6 separate regions of the Homo sapiens genome follow, and all the other regions are linked to region 1. Evidence: promoter capture Hi-C in 16 types of primary human blood cells and fetal thymus (Javierre and others, 2016). All regions are on one chromosome and are shown on one strand. Each heading gives the region's core, a stretch centred on a gene start or on the middle of the fragment in contact. The rest is flanking DNA. Distances are from core to core; before and after follow the strand shown.

Region 1 (3,788 bases), core at 1-2,500:
AGTGAACCCAATCCTACTCCTAAATAAGACATTCATCTGCCCGCTTTGAAATCAACCTACCCTCCTGGCCTCGAGCTGCTCCTTATTTTCTGATTCAGGGGGGGATTTGGCCCAGAAGAAGCCAATGAAAGGCAGGCCTGAGAGAATATCCGAGAAGAGGGCGAACTGGGAGCCGCTCTGCTGGCGCCCGAGGAGACCCCCGTTTCGGTGGCGACAGCGGTAGGAGAGCACCAGGCCCAGCGAGAGGAACACCAGCACGCACAACAGGACCTCCCTGTTGGCCAAAGTGATGAAGTCCCCGAACTTCTTATAAAAATAGGTGAAAGTGGCAATGCCCAGAAAAGTCCACATGGTTCCAAGGCTTCTTTGGTGGCACCGGTCAAGGCGGAGATTATCTGCTCGAGTGGGTTTAAGGTTCTCCCCAAAATGAGGTACCAAGAGGAGCACGGAGAGCCGGCCAGACTCCAGTAAACAGTGTCCCAGGACGAGAAGTCCGATCAGACCAGTTTTTAAAAATCATATAAAGTTAGTGTAAAAGTATGTGAAGCCAAGTTGTATAGGGCGTAGAAAGCAGTATTTAAAAATCGCCTGCTGGAACAGCTCCCGAGCAGACTCGCTCCTCCTCGCCCAGGAAATCCAGATATTCCCTTTTTTTCTTTTTTGATGGTGTTCCCTGAGCGGTTGCTGCGGGTGATGGATACTCTTCTGATACTGGCTCTTCGTGCTATAATTTCTTTTCTCACCAAGAGCAGGTGCCCTTTCAGAAGGGAATGGGAGTGGAGGGAGGGTCACAGAAACACCTCGGCACTGGGGGAAACGTGGCCTAGCCTCTGGCGACGGCGAGCAGCGGCCGGAAGGCACGGGGGCTGCGGGCCGGCGCGGGTTCAGAGGCTTCTTTTTCCGCGGACGGAGACACTGTACAGCCCAACCTCGGGAAAACGCCAACGCCGACGCCTTCTCCAACAAAAGATGGCCTCGGACTCAAGAGTGCGGCTCCAGGGCAATGCAGCCCCAACCTAAAGATTTAGAGGCCTCCCGTTTCGCTGGCCCCCAGAGCCGCCCACCGCGACTGCACTTCCCCACCGATAAAAGGTGGTTTCCAGGGTACCTCCCTCAGATGGCGGCGGCGGCTCCCGACGGCTTCCTCACCAGCATCCCTCGCGGGCGGCGGCTCTCGCCAGCGCGGCGCGGCCCCAGTAACCAGAGTAACCGTCGCACGCCCCCACTCGCCGCCAGGCTCCACGCGTCTCAGCCAGCTGGGCGGGCTCGGCCCAGACGAGGGACCGGGGGCGGGGCTCAGGCGCGAGTCCGCCCATACCGCGCGCCCCGCGTGCTGCCCCGCCCCCTACCCCTGCTCCTGCCGCCGCCGGCCAATGAGGGCGCGCACCGCGCGGTAGGCCGAGATGGCGCTATGCCGCGTTTGGCCAATCGGAGGCGGCGCAACCTGCGCGGCGACGCCCCGAAAGGCGCTAGGGCGATGTTGCGTGGTGCGGGTTGGGGCGTGGGGATGGGCGCGGGCCGGCTCCGGCGTGGGTGGGGCCAGGGGTCGCCTAGGAGGCGCTCTGGGGCCGGGATCGGCGTCGGGGTCGGGGTTGGGGTTGGTTCACCGCAGCAGCCCCAGCTCCTGCGCCCTCCCTGGACTGAGGTGTGCTCGCTTTGAGGAGAAGCCTGGAGTGATCCGCTGCCTCGGGTCGGAACGTTTCCATTCATTCCGCTAGCATTTATTGAGCGCTTATGATATGTCAGTCCCCGGAGTCCGAAAGAGGAATCAGACACAGCTTCCCTGCCCTGTGTATGTGGAGAGGGCGGAAGGGAGGGCCATGAGTGCGTGGAGAGCCTGACATTCCAGCTGAAGCTGGAAGAATGAGTAGGCTTTTGCCTTAAGAAGAAAAGGAGAGGACGCTCCAGGTGCTCAGGCTAGAGATACACGGATGCGCCCAGCCCGTTCTCTCAAGACCAGAAACGTTGGGGGTGGGGGCTCGGAGGCAAAGAAGTCAAATAGTCGTGTCATAGGTGTCCTGAGAAGGGGGTGGTTAGAGAGGGAGCCATGGAAACCCAAGAGGTGGTCCTTCCCTTGGCCTGGAGAAGTCTGGTGAGGCGCCCAGGGGGAGGTTACACGGTGTCCAGGACAAGCAGTCCGAGGGAGCAAAAGTGTGCAAAAGTCTCGGAGTGAGACAGCCCTTATTCTACTACGATGAAACTTACCTAAAATTTATTGAGGCTTAAGACCTCAGTGTCTTTGCTCATCCTGTTTCTTAACTCTGGACTTCCTTCTTTAACCCCTATGATAATAGGTGCAAATCCCTTCTGCCTTTTGGAGCGTGGCTGCATTGTCACCTCTTCCACCAAATCGCCATTGACCTTCACCAAGTCACATAACTTTATTCATACTTTTTAATCTCTAGATTCCCTAAAGATCTGTGTCTGATAAGATCACCCACAGCACCTAGCACAATGCTCTGCCCTTAATTTATCCTCCATAACATGTATTTAATGAATGATGAACGACACTGGCGCATAAAAGCAAGACTAGGCAACTAGAGTTAGGAGACCCAGATTCTGGCTACCGCTAACCAGACTGTGACCTTTTACAGATGTTACAAGTCACTCTGCCTCTGTGGGGAGAAGGCAACTTCTTCATGAACTCGAACATCCTTTGCAATTCTGTATCAGATACTTGGCAGGGTTTAAAAAAACATGGCACCTCTTATAACTTTTCACCCCCAATATTATGTTTTATCTGCTAATAAAATAATTATTTGGTAAAACACCCGCACAGGCGTTCACTTGACCCTCAAAACAACTTTGATTTTTAAAATGAGGAAAATGAAAATTAAAGAGGTTAAATGGCTTGACTAAATCACAGCTGTGATTAAATCGTAATGATGAAACCAAAAGTCAAAGTCCTGGTCTCCAAATCTTGTGGTTCCCCAGTATGCATAATTATCAATAACTGCCTTGCTTTCCAATACTTTTATTCTTTCTTCTACAATATTCCTCACTGTTACCAGTAAGTTTGGCTGTCTGAACTGACATCAAATTTAAAAGGACTGCAGAAAAGAGAATCAGTTCAATGTATGGGAAATCATTTCCTGAAGAGAATTCTTCAATAAACTGCTTATTGGTATCTGTGAGTTCTGTTTTGTTAAAATAATAGAGGAGCAGCTGACTCTTTTATTATTTTTAAATTTTTGTGACAGAGTCTCGCTCTGTGGCCCAGGCTGGAGTGCAGTGGCGCAATCTCAGCTCACTGCAACCTCTGCCTCCTAGCTTCAAGCGATTCTCAAGCCTCAGCCTCCCGGGTAGCTGGGACTAGAGGCACGTGCCACCATGCCGGCTAATTTTTGTATTTTTAGTAGAGACAGTGTTTCACCATGTTGGCGAGGCTGGTCTCAAACTCCTGACCTCAAGTGATCCTCCCGCCTGAGCCTTCCAAAGTGCTAGGATTACAGGCATGAACCACCAAGCCCGGCCAACTGACTCTTACAGATGGGAATACAGTTATCACCAGGATGGCTGTTACCTGCTAACTCTGTACTCAAGATTATCATAAAAGGAATTTTTCTTATTAAGTAGATAATTTTTTAATCTCTGGAAAGCGACTTTCTTCATATGTTTTTATCTTCACAAAGTCATTCTTACAATGTCAGGTCTGAATCCTTTAGGCAGTTCAAGATCCACTTCTGAATTTGGGGCAAAAAGAGCACTTGTAATACCTACCGCAGAGCACACTCTGAATGCCTATATCTTCTGAACTGAATTAAATGTTATATAAGCATTGCTTAAGT
Region 2 (3,742 bases), core at 937-3,436, 550 kb after region 1:
AACAAGACCCAGAACTTAAGAAGATGTCCTGATATCTTGAGAACAGAAAGCATTATTAGTTTAAGAATAGGTTTCTCTTTAAAGATAATAGTATTTTCATAAATGTTTGCTGAAATCAATAGTTACACAGAGAATAACACTACTAATACTCTGTCACAAGTGGATCACAAGCTGTTGTACTAAAGCACATGAGACCATTATTCTTAGCTAGCTACATAATTTTTGGTGTGGGGTCCTCCTCTCGCCTTCTGAGAACACCCTACTCTGTAATAGAGTAGTCTTTAATAAACTTGCTTCTTTCACTGTGCTCTGTGACTGGCCCTAAATTCTTTCCTGTCTGAGATCCAAGAACCTGTTTTTTGGGTCTGGAACAAAATTCCTTTTAAGTAACATTTCCTGTGGCAACTCCCAAGGACTTTATTGAGGTGAGACCTTCAACCCAAAAGAAATAGACTGCGCAGGACCAACTGACTGACTTTGGGTAAGAAGGGGAATACATTTTTATACCGATGAAGGACAAGGACACTTATCTAAGATTGGGTTTGAGGCCTACTTGGGAGGATTAAAGGCCCCTCACAGCTGAAAATGGGTTTAGCACAATGGGATGTTAACCATTATTCACTGTGGATTCGTCCTCCTTGTGCTCTCTGTAAGAGCTTTCCAAAGGCTGCCACTTGCCAGTTTCCTGATTGCTTTCTATGCTTTACTGCTACTTTATGAGAGAGATCTTGTTGAACTGGTCCTGAGGTTTTTAACTTTCCTTTTTCTTGTTTGCCTTTGGGTTATGGGCCATTTGCCTGTTGTTCTGGCATGTTGCTAGAAGACATTGGGGACAAATGGCTCTGTAATATTTACTTTCCCTAGATCTAGACCACTTAAATGAATTGTTTATTGTCTCTCCTTTTTTGCAAAGCTTACTTGGAATTTCGCATTTACAAGTTTTAAATGAAAAGGTCCAATGTGAAAGATTAAGCCTGGCAGCAATTATACCAGTCCCCCCTAGGTGAACTGCTCCAGGATGGAAAACTGGAGATTGCTTTTCAGCAGTTCTTTTTCATCTCCTTGCTAATGGAATGACTTTTACTTTTTGGTTACAAATGGCAAGGCCATGTAAATCTTGTCCTGCTTGCCGCTACTGGCCTGAACTTGGACATTCCTTTCTAGAACTTTGTCATTTCCCTTCTCTAGTGAAACATTTCTTTTGCTGAGTCCCCTATTGTGGTCTTTACTTTTGATTACCTAATAATCTTTTGGTTTCTGTGTTAACTTGGACAATTCTTCCCCGTGGGTTTAGGGACAGGCTTTACTTTCTTCCTTTATGTGGCTGAGAAACAAGGGACAGCCCTAAATGTTCTTGTCTAGAAACAGGGATACATCCCTTGACCCATGGCATATTTTTCTAACCAATTGACCATGTGGCTTCAGGATGACTCAGATGTTTCAGGGCAGTTGCAACAACTGCTCTTCTCATAGATGAAGACAATAAATTAACTTTGGGACAACATCTGGAGGTTTTGACCCCACACCAAATAACAGAGGCCCTAGAAGCTAAAGGGCACCAATAGATGAGTAGGGGATAGTTATTAAATTATCAGGCTTTATTGCTAGATACTCTTGATATAACTCTTAAAGTATAACAGAAGACCTTAATCCTAGCTACGTATCTACTTGGATCCAAAGGCACCCTAGATCATTCATGTACACAAGCTATGGAACAAATTTATTCCAGCTGGCAGGATTTAAAAGACGGGCCACTAGGGCTGGGTGTGGTGGCTCACACCTGTAATCCCAGTACTTTGGGAGGCTGAGGCAGGCGGATTACTTGAGGTCAGGAGTTCCAGAACAGCCTGGCCAACATGGTGAAACCCCATTTGTACTAAAAATACAAAAATTACCTGGGCGTGGTGGTGCACACCTGTAGTCCCAATTACTCAGGAGGCTGAGGGAGGAGAATCACTTGAACCCAGGAGGCAGAGCTTGCAGTAAGCCAAGGTCATGCCACTGCACTCCAGGCTAGAGACAGAGCGAGACTCTGTCTCAAAAAAGGATAATAATTTTAAAAAAGAATTAACATGTACACAAACTCCAAGTATGGCTTTCTGGTGCTTCATGCTCATGCTGCTATTTGGAAATAATGGGGACTCTTTAACTTCTAAGGGCTCCCCTATAGAACATTATTTGGGAATTTTAAATCTACTAGATGCTTCCTTGCTGCCTAAGGAAGTTGCTGTGATTCACTGCAAGGGACATCAAAAAGAAAACTCCAAAATATGCCAGGCACTGTGGCTCACACCTGTAATCCCAGCACTTTGAGGGGCTAAGGCGGGCGGATCATGAGGTCAGGAGTTCGAGACCAGGCTTGCCAACAGGGTGAAACCCCATCTCTACTAAAAATACAAAAATTAGTTGGGCGTGGTGGCTCGTGCCTGTAATCCCAGCTACCTGGGAGGCTAAGGCAGGAGAATTGCTTGAACCTGGGCAGCAGAGGTTGCAGTGAGCCTGAGATCGTGCCATTGCACTCCAGCCTGGGCAACTTGAGCAAGGCTCTGACTCAAAAAAAAAAAAAAAAAGAAAAAAAAGAAAAGAAAAGAAAGAAAGAAAACTCCAAAATAATAAAAGGGCATTCTTTTGCAGATGCTACAGCTGAGGCAGCTTCATTTGAGGGAACCAGTTAATCTGGTAGGCATGTTGGTGCCCACTGCCTTGGTGACGATAAAACTAGAGCATGGTTAATACTAGAAAAGAACAAAAATGGGCTAAGACCCATGGGTTAACTATAAGCACTTCCAGATGGCTAATTGATGAAAATGACAGATGATATGTACCAAGAGCTGATCAATGGAAAATAGTTAAGTATTGGCATGGCTCTACTCATTTGGGAAGAGATTTCTCATTTCAATTAATATGGCTCATCTGTTTATAGGGAAAGACTTTCTTTTTTTTTTTGAGACGGAGTCTCGCTCTGTCACCCAGGCTGGAGTGCAGTGGTGTGATCTCAGCTCACTGCAACCTCTGCCTCCTGGGTTCAAGCAATTCTCTGCCTCAGCCTCCCGAGTAGCTGGGATTGCAGGCATCTGCCACCATGCCCAGCTAATTTTTGTATTTTTAGTAAAGACAGGGTTTCACCATGTTGGCCAGGCTGGTCTTGAACTCCTGACCTCGTGATCCACCCACCTCAGCCTCCCAAAGTGCTGGGATTACAGGCGTGAGCCACCGTGCCTGGCCGAAAAGACTTTCTTAGAACAGTAAAACAAGTGACTTGGGCCTGTGAATTGTGTGCCCAAAAAAACCTCAAACAACCAAACTTTACCTCCTCCATTAGTAAAGCCTGTTCAGCATAGGGGGTCGTACCCAGAAGAAGATTGGCAAACACACTATACCCAAATGCCCCCATGTAAAGGATTCCAATATTTATCAGTGTTGGTTGATACCTTTCTTTACATGTTGGATTGAAGCTTTTCCTATCTGGCCTGAAAAGTCAATCAAGGTTTCTAAATTTTCATTCAAGGATATGATTCCCAGATTCAGGTTGCCTAAAAGCTTGTAGAGTGATAATGGCCCATCTTTACAGCAACAATAACCAAGACATAGCATCCGCTCTAGGAATTCAATATGGTCTTCATTCCGCATGGAGGCCACAGTCTTCAGGAAAAGTAGAAAGGACCAATCAAATTTTAGACAGGACCCTTGCTAAGCTCTGACAGGAAACATCAGAAACCTGGCTCCGTCTATCGCCTGTGGC
Region 3 (4,014 bases), core at 1,390-3,889, 650 kb before region 1:
CTCACTCACCTCATATTATCCCCAGCCATAAATATGAAGTGAGTCCTACAAGAGCCCATAGCCAGCTAGTGTGAAGCTCTCCAAAACCAATTAATTAGACTCCTCAGGGCCAAGATGGAGCTGTTCATTGGTTCATTCAATGTCAACTTACTACTATACTCTTTGATCCTTTTCCTTCCAGCTCCCAAACTTAAAGGCAAAAAATAGATCAGAGTACTCTGTAATTTTTTTCCTGCATGATCCTCAGAAAATATTTGCTTACCTGAGGCAAGGCATGTTCTCAATAACTTATTCAATGAGTGTCCTTCTCATCCTAGATGTACACCTCATCTCCATCAAAAAGGGTGCCCTTTACTTAGCTCTGCAGATGTTACATGTTTAAAACACTGGCTAAGAGGGCTCCAGTAAGCCTATTTTCCACTAAGACTTTTTAAATTTAACTTTGGGAGTTTTGTCCTGAAAAATGTGTAAGTATTTGGAATCTATAAAAACAGTTTTGTTGTTTTGGTTGTTGCTGTTGTTGTTGTTGTTGTTTTAGACGGAGTCTCATTGTTGCCCAGGCTGGAGTGCAGCAGCGCAATCTTTGGTCACTGCAACCTCCACCTCCCAGGTTCAAGTGATTCTCCTGTCTCAGCCTCCTAAGTAGCTGAGACTACAGGCACCTGCCACCACGTCTGGCTAATTTTTTTGTATTTTTAGTAGAGATGGGTTTCATCATGTTGGCCAGGTTGGTTTCGAACTCCTGACCTCAGGTGATCTGCCCGCCTCAGCCTCCCAAAGTGCTAGGATTACAGACATGAGCCACCACGCCCAGCCCAAAGACAATTTTTAAACAAAATTATTTCACCTAATGTGCTGTATCTTGAGTGTTTTTTAAATTTTCACATGTGCCTTATAGTGGATGTATTTTCTTTTTGGTTTTCGATTTTTTTTTTTTTCTATTGCCGTGTAACACATTGCCACAAACGTAGAAGTTTAAAACAACAGTCATTTATTTTCTCACAATTTCTGCGGGTTAGGAGTTTCGCATGGCTTAAGTGGGTTTTCCAATTAGGGTCTCATCTGGCTATGGCTCAAGTATCGGGCAGGCTGCATCCTCATCTGGAAACTTAACTGGGGAAAAATCAACTTCCAAGCTCATTCAGGTTGTTGGCAGAATTCATTTCCTTGTGGCTCTCTTAGTGAGGGTCCTGGCTTTTTTCTGACTGTTGGCTAGAAGCCGTCCTCAGGTCCTAGAGGCCCCCACAGTTCCCCATCATGCAGGCCTCCCCAACATGGTTGCTTGTTTCATCCAGCCCACAAGGAGAGTCTCTGATACAGAATCTGATATAACATAACTCAATCACAAGAGTGACATTCCATCCCCCTTGCCATATTCTGTGGGCTAGGAGCAAGTCACAGTTCCTCAGGCAATCGACAGAAGGAGATTATACAACAGCATGAACACCGGGAGGTAAGGATCATAGAGGCCACCTTGAAGTAGGTGCCACAATAAGAGTCTCTGCCTTAACTTTAGCAACTGTCACATTCTCTGCCAGAATACCCTCATCTCATACCCTCCCATTCCACCACTAGAAGGCACAAATACAGCTCACCACCACCAACTATACAATTTCTTTGCAGTCACATATTTTTACCTTAGAAATTCTTGTGACATTTGCATTTGCATTTATTCTATAATGTATCCCAACATGTTTTTATATAAGAATTTATTTAATATTTACTGGTCAGATAGTTTAACTCTTCATGTCTTCAAATGGAAACAAAGCTTAGGAAGATGTGCCATGTTTTTTCATATGCAACTGTGTACTTCTGTTGGAGGACAGTTTAAACTGTATTTATCCTAGTTTTCAAATCCCTTAAAGTTTGCCTGGAAGACCTATAGGGTGGACCTATAAGAATCTATTTGCATAAGTCATTAAGCCTCCTGGGAAGAAATGCATTCTAAGGAAAAGTTACCCAAACTTTGTTGATTTTTTCACATTTTACAACATGTATGATATGTTCTGCATTTGAAAACCACCTGTACTTAATACTTTTAATTAACTCCTTTTTTAAAATTTACCCTCTTCTTTAACAAAAACAATAACCTACACTTTTCCTAGTACACTTTAAAATAAAGTGGCTAATGACTAAATGTTTTATTTTTTTGTTTTTGTTTTTGTTTGTTGAGATAGGGTCTTGCTCTACTGCTCAGGCTGGAGTGCAGTGGTGCGATCATGGCTCACTGCAGCCTTGATCTCTCAGGCTCAAACAATCCTCCGGCCTCAGCCTCCCAAGTGGCTGGGACTACTGGTGCATGCCACCAAGCCTGGCTAATTTTTTTTTTTTTTTACTTTATGTGGAGACAGGGTCTCACCATGTTGCCCAGGCTTATCTTGAACTCCTGGTCTCAAGTGACCCTCTTGCCTCAGCCTCCCAAAGTGCTGGGATCACAGGTGTGAGCCACCACGCCCAACCTGACTAAATGTTTTAATCATAATTTGCTTAACATCAAAATTCATTTCACCCCCACCCCAGCCACCTGTGGTAAGCAGCCTCTAAGATGATCCCCAATGATTCCTGGCCCCTTGTTATTCACAGCCTTGTGTAACCTGCTTCAGAGTGTGAGCTGGACCTAGTTACTAGTTTCTAATCAATAGATTTTGGCACAAGGGATGATACATCACTTGAAGAATAGGTTATAAAAGACTGTGACTTGTGTCTTGTTTGCCTTCTGCCTCGCCCTATCACTTGTTCATTACAACAAAGCCAGCGCCATATTGGGAGATACTCTATGGAGAGATCCATGTGGAAAGAAACTGAGGAAATCTTCTAGCCAGTAGCTCCTGAGGCACAGAGACCCTCGGCACAACAGCCGGCAAGAAACTGAGTCCTACCCCCACCAACCCCAGGATGCTGGGAAGCAGCCCCTGCCCTATGCAGCCTTGCCATGACCACAGCTTTGGGAAAGACCCAGAGCCCAGAGACCCAGTTAAGCCTCTCCTGGATTGCTGACCTTAAAAACTGTGAGACACTAAATGATGCTGTTTTAAGCTGCTAAGTGTTGGGGTAATTTGTTACATGGCAATAGATAACTAATACAGCCTCGACCAATGGTCAGTGCCCCACACTTTAGAGAACACCATCCTAAAGGGACCATGTTCCAGTGGGACACTATTCCAGTGTAGTAAGTGGAGCAATCATGGAAAGTAGAGGGACAAGTTGAGTGCAACGGCTCAGACGTGTCCAGATACGCTTCTTTACCTCTGCCTTGGAGCTTGTTCCAGAACCTGTGAGGGTGAATGCTGAAACAGAAAAAAAAAAAAAAAAAAGAATTACTTTTTATTAAAATCTCCTTGAGTTACTGGGAGGCAGCGTGGCCCTGCTTTGGGGCAAATGTAAGTAAACAAGATGCAAAAAGACAGAGGCATCGGGTCAGGATGGATCACAAGGTGACACTGGATGAATGTGGGATCCCCAGTGCAGACACCAGCCACACCAACCTTGGCAAGAGCCTCCAAAGCTTGAGTGCAGACATCAGAGCAGAAAGCTGGAGCTGGGAAACAGAAGAGTAAATACTACATGAGAGACAGGGGGATGGAGTTCACATGGACACATGAGCTGTTCCCTGGGACTTCCAGAAATAACTAAGATGAGACCCTTGGCAGGGGATCCCAGACAGTAAGACAAGAGACTGACACAAGGTAAACATAAAGCAAATACAAATATGTATTGACAATCAATAAAATAAAAGGTGTAATGGATATTGTGACCCTGATCCTCCTCAAAGTCTAGGGTCCCCAGGGACTTAAGAATATGAAATATTCTCTTCCTAACAATATTGTAAGACCACAGTACAGGGTTCCGCCTAGCCTTCCAGAGTGTGATGTAAGAAGGGCATTTATCATTAATTCCTCTTTACAGAAGAGGAAATGATTTCACTCGGCTCACACAGCTGGTGGGTCTTGATAGACTTGGAACCAGAACCCAAGGCTTTTGATTCCTCATCTAGTTTTCTTCTCCAGGTTGTCC
Region 4 (3,632 bases), core at 930-3,429, 690 kb before region 1:
TAGAACACAGTGGTAAAGAATATGGGCCAGGCACGGTGGCTCACGCCTGTAATCCCAGCACTTTGGGAGGACAAGGTGGGCAGATGATCCGAGGTCAGGAGTTCGAGACCAGCCTGGCCAACATAGTGAAACTCTGTCTCTACTAAAAATACAAAAATTAGCCGGGCATGGTAGCGGGTACCTGTAATCCCAACTACTCCAGAGGCTGAGGCAGGAGAATCACTTGAACCTGGGAGGTTACAGTGAGCCGAGATCACACCATGCTTTAAATTCCAGCACTAAGAGTTAGCGCAGTTCTCCAAATGCAAGCTCACTGCCCTGACTTGGGCCCCCTTTCAGCTTGTCTGGGGATGCGCTAACTCTGAATGCCTGGCCTCAGAGGGCTGGTACAATGGAAAGTGCTCGGCTGATGAACGCTACATGCCCAGGTCTGACTCTTGGCCCCACCACTTGCCAAGTCACTTACCCTCTTTCACCTTCAGTTTCCTTGTCTGTAAAATGGGCCTAAGCACACCTTCCTCAATGTGAGGATTAGGATAAGGCCTGTGTCTAGCAATCTAAAGAGTAGCTCTCTGTCCCTTCTCTTCTGCCTTTCCCTGACATGAGGCCAAAAGAGTGATAACCCAGTGGAACACCCAACCAATCAGCAGTTGTCGTTGTTGTTGTTTGTCTTATGCCCAGATAGGGATTGGGGGTTGGGAAACAGGTGTGTCACAGCTTCATGATATGGAAATGCCCTGAGGCCTTTGTTTATAAATACAGATCCTTGGACTGCACCCACAGAGAGCCCATAGATCTGGATTTTTAACCAGCTTCTAGAGAATAGTGGCCCCGGTGGTCACCAGGCCACCCGCTAGGGCGCACTGCCCTTCAGTCATTGATTCCAACATCACAATATCCACCATATCTTCAAACCATCTCATTATTTTTAACTCAGATTTTATACATCATTTTTATTCCAATCAACATGCTTTTGTAACTTTAAATAATCTGTTTTTAAATATCCTTTATACCAGTACCACAAATGCAAATATATTGAAAGGAAATATGACAGGCTGTTTAACAGGAACATGGGCCCTGGAGCCAAAATTGTCTGATAGAAACCCCATCTCCACTGTTTGCCAGCTATGTAAATTTAGACAGTTTGTAAGACTCCTTAAAGTTTCTGTGTGTCAACATCCCCATGTGTACAAAGGGGATAATAAGAATATCTAAAGATAAGGCTGTTGTGATGATTAAATGCTTTGCTGTAAAGCACTTACAACAGTACCCAGGACAAAGTAAGCCCTCAGTAAATGTGAGATATTCTTTTTTTTTTTTTTTGAGATGGAGTCTCATTCTGTCACCCACGCTGGAGAGCAGTGGCGCGATCTCGGCTCACTGCAACCTCCACCTACTGAGTTCAAGCAATTCTCCTGCCTCAGCCTCCCAAATAGCTGGGACTGCAGGTGTGCACCACCATGCCCAGCTAATTGTTGTATTTTTAGTAGAGATAGTGTTTCACCGTGTTGGCCAGGATGGTCTCGATCTCTTGACCTCATGATCCATCTGCCTCGGCCTCCCAAAGTGCTGGGATTACAGGCGTGAGCCACCACACCCAGCCCAAATGTCAGTTATTCTTGTTGTGACAAATAATTAAATAAATAAATAAATAAATAGTATCACTTGCTACAGATAGAAAATAACCACCAAAAAATGCATAACTGTGAAAAGTTATTAAAAGTTCATCCACGCACCATCAAAGGCATCTGTGTGTCATCAGTAGTATACATTCCACACTCAGGCAAACACTGTTGCAGAAAGTGCCAAGAAACTCTACCAAGTGGTGCTGTCACCGGGCAAACTAACTTGGGAGTTACTCTGGTGTTGCTTTAGACTTAATTCTGAGGTTTCCATTAACCTGAGAGCTGCATGTGTCCAGGGAAAATTCCCTTTGGAATCCACTGTTTTGGTTCATCCAAAAGCAGCTGGAAAACATCTGTGCCCAGGGATTAGGAACTGATTCCTCCTCTGTGGGAAAGAAAGCAGTCTCTCAAAGCGAGCTGCTCAGCAACAGGCTCATTAGCACTTTGTACTTCTTGAGGTTTGTTTATCTACAGATCTCAACATGCCTCAAAACATTCATTAATGCTCACAACACCCGGTCAGCCCAGAATCACAGTCCCCATTCTGCAGATGGGAAAATTGATAGAAAGGGCTATTAAGTGACTGCACTCTTAAGTGACTGAGCCATTAAGGCACTGTTGAGCAAAAGAAGAGTTGTGGCAAGAAGAAAAGTGATGACTCCTGAGGATCCGGGCCTGCAGTACCACCCCACTAATCAAGCATTCGCCCTGGGATGGAGACACGCAGATGGCAGGAGGCCACACGGTTCCCTTTATTGTTCCCATGACAGTGTGGGAACAGGATGGCATCTTTGGAGAGAATTCCAGAAGTGCCAGGCACTGGGCATTTCATACATTTTTACTGGATGAATATGTGGAGGGAATTTTCACGAAGGAGTCCAATTTCTCCTTCCCATCCAATTTCCCACAAGAGGAGTGAAGATAATTCCAGCAGGACCTAGAGCTAAGCCAGATTTGGTTGGGAAATTTATAGCCCAGAATAACAAACAGGTGCGTAGATAGTGTCAGGAAAGGAGGCCAAGAACATGAAGGCATCGCATCCAGGGAGTAAGATGAAGAATAGAACCAGAAAGCAGGACCATAGCTTGAAGCTATGGAAGAGGTTTAAAACAAGTTGTGAAGATGAGATGTATAAAGAATCTTCGAAATGTTCATTTCTTTTAACTCAAAAAAAAAAAAGTTAAGGAATCTCTTCAAAGCAAATATTAGGAAAATTATATAAAGGTTCCTATACAGTTGTATAAAAATATCTGTAAATATATTGTTTTAAAAGTGTAATCCAGGGCCAGGCGCAGTGGCTCACGCCTGTAATCCCAGCACTTTGGGAGGCTGAGGTGGACAGATCACAAGGTCAGGAGTTTGAGACCAGCCTGGCCAACATAGTGAAACCCTGTCTCTACTAAAAATACAAAAATTAGCTAGGCATGGTGGCACACACCTGTAATCCCAGCTACTCAGGAGACTGAGGCAGGAGACTCGCTTGAACCCAGGAGGCGGAGGTTGTGGTGAGCCGAAATGGTGCCACTGCACTCCAGCCTGGGCAACAGAGCAAGACTCCATCTCAACAACAACAACAAAAAAAGTGTAATCTATACTAACAAAAATTAGAAATAGGCCGGCTACAGTGACTCATGCCTATAATTGAGGATTTTGGGAGGCAAAGGCAGAAGGATCACTTGAGCCCAGGAGTTTGAGACCAGCCTGGACAATAAAGTAAGAATTTGTCTCTACCGAAAAATGCAAAAAAAAAAAAAAAAAAAAAAAAAAAAAATATATATATATATATATATATATATATATATATATATATAAAATCTAAATATTCAGAATTAGGGATCGATTTAAAGAGGTTATGTTACGCCAATACTACAAAACCATTAAAAATATTTTTAAGAAAATTTAATTATATAAACAAGATCATAATAAACAAGTGAAACTTCAGGATACAAAATAATTAACGCAATCATAAAGATACCAGTATTTTATACTTAAAGAAAAACTGGAAGA
Region 5 (3,542 bases), core at 839-3,338, 530 kb after region 1:
ACTATATGGTCTTGAGTGTAAACTACAGGTATATTCCTTCCTGCCATCATCGTGTAGCAATAACGCTATTTCCTCCTGATGATTGGATTCATTTACCCCAACTAACATGGTGACTCTTCCTTGCCTGCTGGTCTCCTAGCACAAGGACCTTGAACCGGGAAACCTCAGCAAGTTAAAGTTTAAAGGATCTATTATTGTGTCTCTTGATGAAAAGGTTCCTCTCTTGGGAATCAGGACTTCTAATTCACAAAGTTGCGGGGATGAGAAGTCCAAACTCCCCACTTGGGTCACTGGGAGTGAGAGTATGTGGTTATATTAATTTCCTATCACTGCTATGACACTACGAACTTAGTGGTTTCAAACAACACAAATTTATTTTCTTACAGTTCTGGAAGCCTAAAATCAAGATATCAACTGGACTGTTTTTCCTGAAGTCTTCAAGAAAAAGTCTGTTTCCTTGCCTTTTTCAATTTCTAGAGGCTACCTACATTTCTTGGCTCATGGCCCCTTACTCATATCACCCCATCCTCCTGCTTAAGTCATTGCATCTACTAGGCAAATCTGCCTCTCTCTTGTAAGAATCTTTATGATTATATTGGGCCTATTGGATAGTCCAGGATAATCTCTGTATCTTGAGATCATTAACTTAGTCATATCCACAAAGTCTCTTTTATCTTGAAGGTAAAATATTCATAGAATCCAGGATTAGGATCTGAACATATTTGGGGGCCATTATTCAGCCTACTACACAGTAGGAATTCTATTTATATCCTTTCATTCCCAAACATGCATGTTATGTATATATGAGACACAGCACCATAAAATGAGTGTTGATTTAGAGTATATACTGTACCCTGGTGGACAAGGTCATTCCATTTTCACAGGCTATTATCTTCAAGCTTTTGCTTCAGTTTCACCTTCAAAAGGGTTTTTCATCATTCCATCAGACCCGCATTTTCTCGGTTATATAGTATGTGATAGGACTAGTGGATCTCATGGTTATGTACCTGCTGATACACCTCCTTTGCTGTAAAGTGCATCCCTAAATCAAAGGCAATATTACACAGGATACATGTTGATGGATCAAATACCTGTAAACCTGTGAGTAGTAGAGCTGGCCAACAACTTATAGGCAAGGAAGTCAAACTCATACATGCAGATGGGCAGTTTCTAGTCAAGGAGAATCACTGCCCATTCTAGGATGGAAGGAATCCAACATAAATCAATTTGCTGCCCAAGTAGCTGTTTGGTATCCTTGAGGGTTGGTGCTGTATCAGGAACTTGGTGTTTAACACTGGGGAGTGGCTATTTTGTTGTTGTTGTTGTTGTTGTTTTGTTTTGTTTGAGACGGAGTTTCACTGGTTGCCCAGGCTGGAGTGCCGTGGCGCCATCTCGGCTCACTGCAACCTCTGCCTCCTGGGTTCAAGGGATTCTCCTGCCTCAGCCTCGTGAGTAGCTGGGATTACAGGCATGCGCCACCACGGCCAGCTAATTTTGTATTTTTAGTAGAGACGGGGTTTCTCCATGTTGGTCAGGCTGGTCTCAAACTCCAGACCTCAGGTGATCCGCCCACCTCAGCCTCCCAAAGTGCTGGGATTACAGACAGGAGCCACCGCGCCCAGCCTGGGGAGTGGCTATTGGATAAGTGGAGGCTATCTATTGGCTTCTTGCTCACTTGCATTCCTGCAAGATGACTACTTTGTCATAAGCCCCCTGTGCCATTCCTGGGGGCGGAGGGAGGGGGCGGTGGAGCCGATGGTTGTAGCTGCTGAAGTTTACTGGCTAAATCTGTCTACTTGGTTATTTAATGCTGCTTACATGTTGGATTGTCTCTGGCAGATAAAGATTGTGTTATACAATACAAAAAGCCCTCCTTATGTGCCATATCTGATATATTTCTCCTCTGCTTCTCCAGACTTCTTGTCCCTGATATACCAGTCTTATTCCAGACCCCTGATCAACTAGCCAACTTATTTGCCATGAAAATATGTTCTTAGTTCAAGACACTTTCTTTCCACACACAGTTGATGACCAGGAATACTGCCCCACATTATGCCTTTTGGGAGGGTTCTCCTTACTGCTGTCTTTTAAGGCCAGTCCTGTGTGGGGCTGTAGGGCAGTAGCAGTCCATTTTTGTTTTGAACCTATATTCCAAGAAACCTCAGTGAATTCAGCTCAGGCTTTTTTGTCCTCCATAAGCTAGACATGAGAGCCTCCCAAGTGGCCATAATTGTGAGCTGAGGAAGGGACATTGGTAAAGAATCAGATATGACATGGGAGCCTGACCACCTGCCTTTGCCCAGCTCATGATGGGCCTCTCTGGCTACATGGTCACTTGATGTCCATAATCAGTTCTTACCAAGGCACATTAGCATGGATAGAGTTGTTTTTGGGATTTTGCACTGCAGATGGCCCAGCCTTGCCACAGAATGCCAGGAGTCGACCTTGTGATTCTCCCATTGGAGCTTGCCTTCAACTTTCATGGCTTCTTATCACATTTACTCTTGTCCCATAGAATATCCTGAATTGGTCCATGCAACAGGGCTAAATACACCATACCTGCTAGAGAACTTTTACATGCTATGGATCCCACTGAAAACTGGCAGATTTCTATCTCACCCAGTTTACGAGTCAGAACAGTACTGCCAACTTCTGAATTCCCACAGAAGCCTACACAGCTTGGTGTGCTTCCCTGGTGGCAGAATAATTTTGGTGAAATGAGTGGGTGAGATGCAATAATTTGTCCTTTACTGTGAAGGGGATATCTTGGCATTCAAGCAGCCTACTGGGCCCTAAAAGTTTCACTGAGGTAACAGCTTGCTGGGTCTTAAGGATTATTTCCCATCCTCCAGTGTACAGTATGCTAGCTGCTTATTATTCACCTTATCCAGCTAGCATGATGTCATCAATGTGGTAGGTCATTGTGACATTATGTGGGATGTTTAGATGGTCTAGATCTCTTCGGATTATGACGCAGTGTGGAAGAGTTAACATAACCCTAAGCCAATACTATAAATGGGTACTGCTGTCCTATATAAACACAAACTTAATTCTTGTCCAGCACTCTCAGGACCCAGTTCCATACACATGCTCATGGTTCCTGTTGGTACATGTTGGTTAGATCCTGCATCTCTTTGGTCATATAAGCCCATTTGGAATTGAAAGTAGACACACAGAATGAGGGCAAAACACCTGCAGAACAGCTGCTTCATCATGGTGGGCTTTTTTCATATTAGGTTTTGTTACCTTTGAGTTTTTAAATTATGTGTAAAGCTTCGATTAAAAAAATAAAAATTATTAAAAAGAAACTGAGACAGTCTATCCACCTATCTCTATTTACCCAGTGCTGTTGTTGTGTTACATAAAATTCAATTTTAGCTTCATGTTCATGCAATATTTTCGTTTACCCTTGATTCAACCTTGACCTTTAAAAAGCCAAAAAGACAAATACCTATTTTGACACTGGTTCTGATCTCTCTGAAATTCTGTGTGACCAATGGTCAAGTAACCTTGCAGGTTATTTATCATGTCTAATCTGAAAA
Region 6 (3,809 bases), core at 424-2,923, 510 kb after region 1:
TCAATAACTGTAATCCGTAAATTCGATACATGTGCCTCACCAAAAGATAAACATATCGTGTGGAATAATAAAACCACTTCAGTTTCACTGCCAGGACAAACACTGTATTTAATGTGAGAATCAAGGAAGAAGTAAACAGTAAAGTCTCTCTGATGTGTAATGGTAGCTCTGTGATTAAGCCTATTACAGGAACCAAGAGATCCAAAATAATTAATTGTGAATAGATGGAATGAATCTGGAGTAGTGTAACGTATCCAATTCCAAATGTTAGCTGTAGAACGATAAGTGCCATCCACAGCGAGGGACCTTTTCGAGGAAGCAGCTCAATTCCAAAAGCTGACGTGTTGTAGGCACCATAGAAGTCAATGTGCAAAGAAGCATAATAATTCACCAACACTGAAGTTGCAGCTAACAGAAAGGCTGAGCTGTACGTGTAAAACTTGAAAAGTGATCGTTGTGACAAGATCAGAACAATACTGGATGCAAATACACCTAAAAGAAAGAAAGAAAAAGTCATTTGAATGAAGTATTTGTAAGAATGTTTCCCCACTAAGAGTTATGATATTCTTCCTTTAATTAGGAAATATGAATATTTTCAGTTATGAACATTAAGCCTCAAGACAACTAAGGCTTAAAGGGTAATAAAGGTTTTGTAAAGTCAGAGTTCAGGAGAACAGACCAAACATACTAAATTATTCTTTAAAATTTCATTCCTTACTTTCTAATTTCCAAAGTATTTCAAGTAACACTGTAGCTGTCCAAGGCACCAAATTACTAAATTATTTTCAAGATGAATTTGTAGTGGTACATACATTTTAACAAGTTTTAAAACTCAAAAGAATATGTCTTTTATCATTTCATAATCATTAAAATTAATTTTAAAAATTGGGTTAAAAATAACCCAAATGGAAAACATTTATTCCTATTAAGTTTTAGATTCATTTATTATTGACTGACTGAGACAAGAGTCTCACTCTGTTGCCCAGGATGGAGTGCACTGGTGCAATCTCAGCTCACTGCAAATTCTGCCTCCCAGGCTCAAGCAATTCTCCTGCCCCAGCCTCCCAAGTAACTGGGATTACAGGCACCTGCCACCATGCCCAGCTAATTTTTGTATTTTTAGTAGAGACGGGGTTTCACCATGTTGGCCAGACTGGTCTCTAACTCCTGACGTCAAGTGATCCGCCCGCCTTGCCTCCCAAAGTGCTGGGATTACAGGCGTGAGCCACCGCACCCAGCCAAGTTTTAGATTTTTTTTTAAAGGATTCTTTAGGAAATCAAGTTCAAGTTTTATACTTCCACTTAATTCCTCCTTTTCTTCAAACTGTGAACTCATGCCAGCTCTTATTTCCTACTCCTTAACTCTGAGCATTCTCCAAAGGGTCCAAAATTCCATTTTTTTTCCTCCTAGTTTCCTTCGGACTTAGAAACATCTTCCAAGTTCCCTTTTTCCTGTATAATGCTGAATCTGTTTCTTAAAATAGTCAACTCTTTTTATTGTTCTTCACATTACAAAAGTAACACTCAGAAAACCAAGACATGTTTTTAGAAAATGGTAATTCTCCTTCCCCCACTCCATAGACACCATCTTTCTTTGTACTCTGACAGAAATGCATATTTTAAGTAGGATTACAATAAACACATTATTATCCAAGGTTTCAACAATGGGAATGACATCTGAATACTCACCTACTTTCACTCCTACAACTGCAAATCTCCAAAGTTCTGAAACTCGACTTGCCTTAAACTAGAATCAGCTTTTCCTTGTGATTTGCTATTTCAGTTGAAGGTACCATTATTGTTCTTTTAGAGATACTCCCAACCCAGCCCCACATGCTCAAACTTTGCCAATTAGTTGCCAAATTCTTCTAACACCTCTATCTCCCTTTTCTGTGACACCAATCAATCAGTCTGTCTCAAAAAACCCTCATCTTGTCCAAATCCATTTACAAGCCATCACCAAATTGCCTTTCTTCATTCCCTGCTCAAAATACTTCAGCGGCTCTGAAATTACTATCAACTAAAATCTACATTCTTGCTCCTGGCATTCAAGAACCCAATTTGCTTTACAGTAATATTCCTCCTAACACACACACATCAGTGCTCCAGACTTGGATTCCCCAAACACATTCCTTTCTCCACTATAGCTACAGCAGTGTTTACATTCTTTTTGCTTGGAATGATGTCCCCAACCTCCCAATCCCTGACTATTCAAATCCTACCTATCCTAGAAACCTACTTTCTTTGATAGAAACTGTTCTTTCAGCATACCTGCAGAACTTAGTGAAACATTTAACACTCATATATCACCTGATATTGTAGTCTGCAGTTATCTAAGTATAATCTACCCTATTACACATGTATCTATAACAGAAAGCAAAGATCCTACCCTGTCCATCTATGGATTCTACAATATTTTGTACAAAATAAGTACAATTAGTATTCATTAGGAAATGTCTGTCACATCTGGATGTTTTTAAAGGCAACCACAAAATATAGCCTGCTTGAAAAATAAAATCTATGTTTCAGACAATGAGAAACCATACCCTGGAGTACAGAAAAAGTGACAAACTCCAAATTAAAAATCCATCTTGGCTGGGTGTGGTGGCTCACAATGGTAATCCCAGCACTTTGGGAGGCTGAGGCGGGTGGATCACTTGAGGCCAGGAGTTCAAGACCATGTCAACATGGTGAAACCCTGTCTCTACCAAAAATATAAAAATATGCCAGGGTGGTAGCACGTGCCTGTACTCCCAGCTACTCAGGGGGTTGAGGTGGGAGAATCGCTTGAACCCGGGAGGCATTGCAGTTAGCTGAGATCGCACCACTGCATGCCAGCCTGGGTGACAGTGAGACCCTGTCTCAAAATACATAAATAAATAAATATTAAATAAAATAAAAATCCATCTATCCACCTTATTTCAGCAGGTAATCAAGACATTGCATATTATTACAGTAGACGCATTTCACAATCCACTGCACATATAAGCAAGGGCTAGTTCATTTAAGTGATGACTCTGTCCAGGGATTTAAAATGTATTCTGTGCCAAAATGTCAAGTCATCTGTGAAAAGGAAAACAAAAGGACACAATAAAGTAGAAGACATATAAACCTCTAAATACAAACCACCTGATTCCCCAAGAAAATGGGCCACTAATAATCCCCCAAAGAGTTGTGAGCTCAGAACAGGCTCTTTTAAATATATATATTTTTAATATATATATTTTTAAATATATATATATTTAAATAATATATATATATTTTTAATAGATATATTTTTAAATATATATATATTTAAATATATATATATATTTTTAATATATATATTTTTAAATATATATATATTTAAATAATATATATATATTATATATATATATATTTTTTTTTATATTTTTTTTAATGGAGTTTCGCTCCTGTTGCCCAGGCTGGAGTGCAATGGCGTGATCTTGGCTCACTGCAACCTCTGCCTCCCAGGTTCAAGCGATTCTTCTGCTTCAGCCTCCCAAGAAGCTGGGATTACAGGTATGTACCACCACTCCCAGCTAATTTTGCATTTTCAGTAGAGACAGGGTTTTTCCACGTTGGTCAGGCTGGTCTCAAACTCCTGACCTCAGGTGATCCACCCGCTTCGGCCTCCCAAACTACTGCGATTATAGGCGTGAGCCACTGCGCTCGGCCCTGAAAAGATTTTTTTATTAGAAACTTCTTCCATGGAAGGTAACAAGAAAATGGAATTAATTCAGCCTACCAGATGCCATATGTAATCTTACATTCTCTACATGGAAAACCACCTTATTTTCCTGAGACAA

What was found. Contacts are between HindIII fragments. The CHiCAGO score rates a contact against its expected background, and 5 or more counts as called.
Region 2: a fragment that was not itself captured here is called in contact with the fragment with the promoter of SQLE in region 1 in 5 of 17 cell types (naive B cells, fetal thymus, total B cells and 2 more); the score reaches 6.8 in naive B cells.
Region 3: a fragment that was not itself captured here is called in contact with the fragment with the promoter of SQLE in region 1 in 1 of 17 cell types (neutrophils); the score reaches 5.0 in neutrophils.
Region 4: a contact is called between a fragment that was not itself captured here and the fragment with the promoter of SQLE in region 1, in 1 of 17 cell types (neutrophils). The highest score is 5.3, in neutrophils.
Region 5: a fragment that was not itself captured here is called in contact with the fragment with the promoter of SQLE in region 1 in 3 of 17 cell types (erythroblasts, megakaryocytes and total B cells); the score reaches 7.5 in erythroblasts.
Region 6: a contact is called between a fragment that was not itself captured here and the fragment with the promoter of SQLE in region 1, in 1 of 17 cell types (erythroblasts). The highest score is 5.2, in erythroblasts.

Annotation. Positions count from the first base shown.
Region 1 is chr8:124,995,967-124,999,754 of GRCh38, reverse strand. It overlaps SQLE (squalene epoxidase), which reads right to left and starts at 1,250. Exons shown (of 11, transcript NM_003129.4): 1 at 61-1,250. The coding sequence starts at 351. SQLE-DT (SQLE divergent transcript) reads left to right here and starts at 1,557. Exons shown (of 2, transcript NR_134457.1): 1 at 1,557-1,792; 2 at 2,595-2,767. RefSeq lists enhancers at 890-939, 1,870-1,929 and a silencer at 1,150-1,649. The HindIII fragment of the contact is 7,996 bases long and covers 1-3,788 here.
Region 2 is chr8:124,445,061-124,448,802 of GRCh38, reverse strand. No RefSeq gene overlaps it. Among named protein-coding and RNA genes, the nearest start is that of TYW2, 3.9 kb to the left of the region's middle. The HindIII fragment of the contact is 2,542 bases long and covers 916-3,457 here.
Region 3 is chr8:125,649,506-125,653,519 of GRCh38, reverse strand. It overlaps LINC02964 (long intergenic non-protein coding RNA 2964), which reads right to left. Exons shown (of 7, transcript XR_001746072.2): 6 at 3,247-3,287. Among named protein-coding and RNA genes, the nearest start is that of LINC02964, 130 kb to the right of the region's middle. The HindIII fragment of the contact is 1,737 bases long and covers 1,771-3,507 here.
Region 4 is chr8:125,690,220-125,693,851 of GRCh38, reverse strand. No RefSeq gene overlaps it. Among named protein-coding and RNA genes, the nearest start is that of LINC02964, 170 kb to the right of the region's middle. The HindIII fragment of the contact is 6,595 bases long and covers 1-3,632 here.
Region 5 is chr8:124,464,036-124,467,577 of GRCh38, reverse strand. It overlaps RNF139-DT (RNF139 divergent transcript), which reads left to right. Exons shown (of 2, transcript NR_108047.1): 2 at 1-3,542. Among named protein-coding and RNA genes, the nearest start is that of RNF139-DT, 8.8 kb to the left of the region's middle. The HindIII fragment of the contact is 2,374 bases long and covers 902-3,275 here.
Region 6 is chr8:124,482,514-124,486,322 of GRCh38, reverse strand. It overlaps RNF139 (ring finger protein 139), which reads right to left. Exons shown (of 2, transcript NM_007218.4): 2 at 1-492. Among named protein-coding and RNA genes, the nearest start is that of RNF139, 9.5 kb to the right of the region's middle. The HindIII fragment of the contact is 4,732 bases long and covers 1-3,809 here.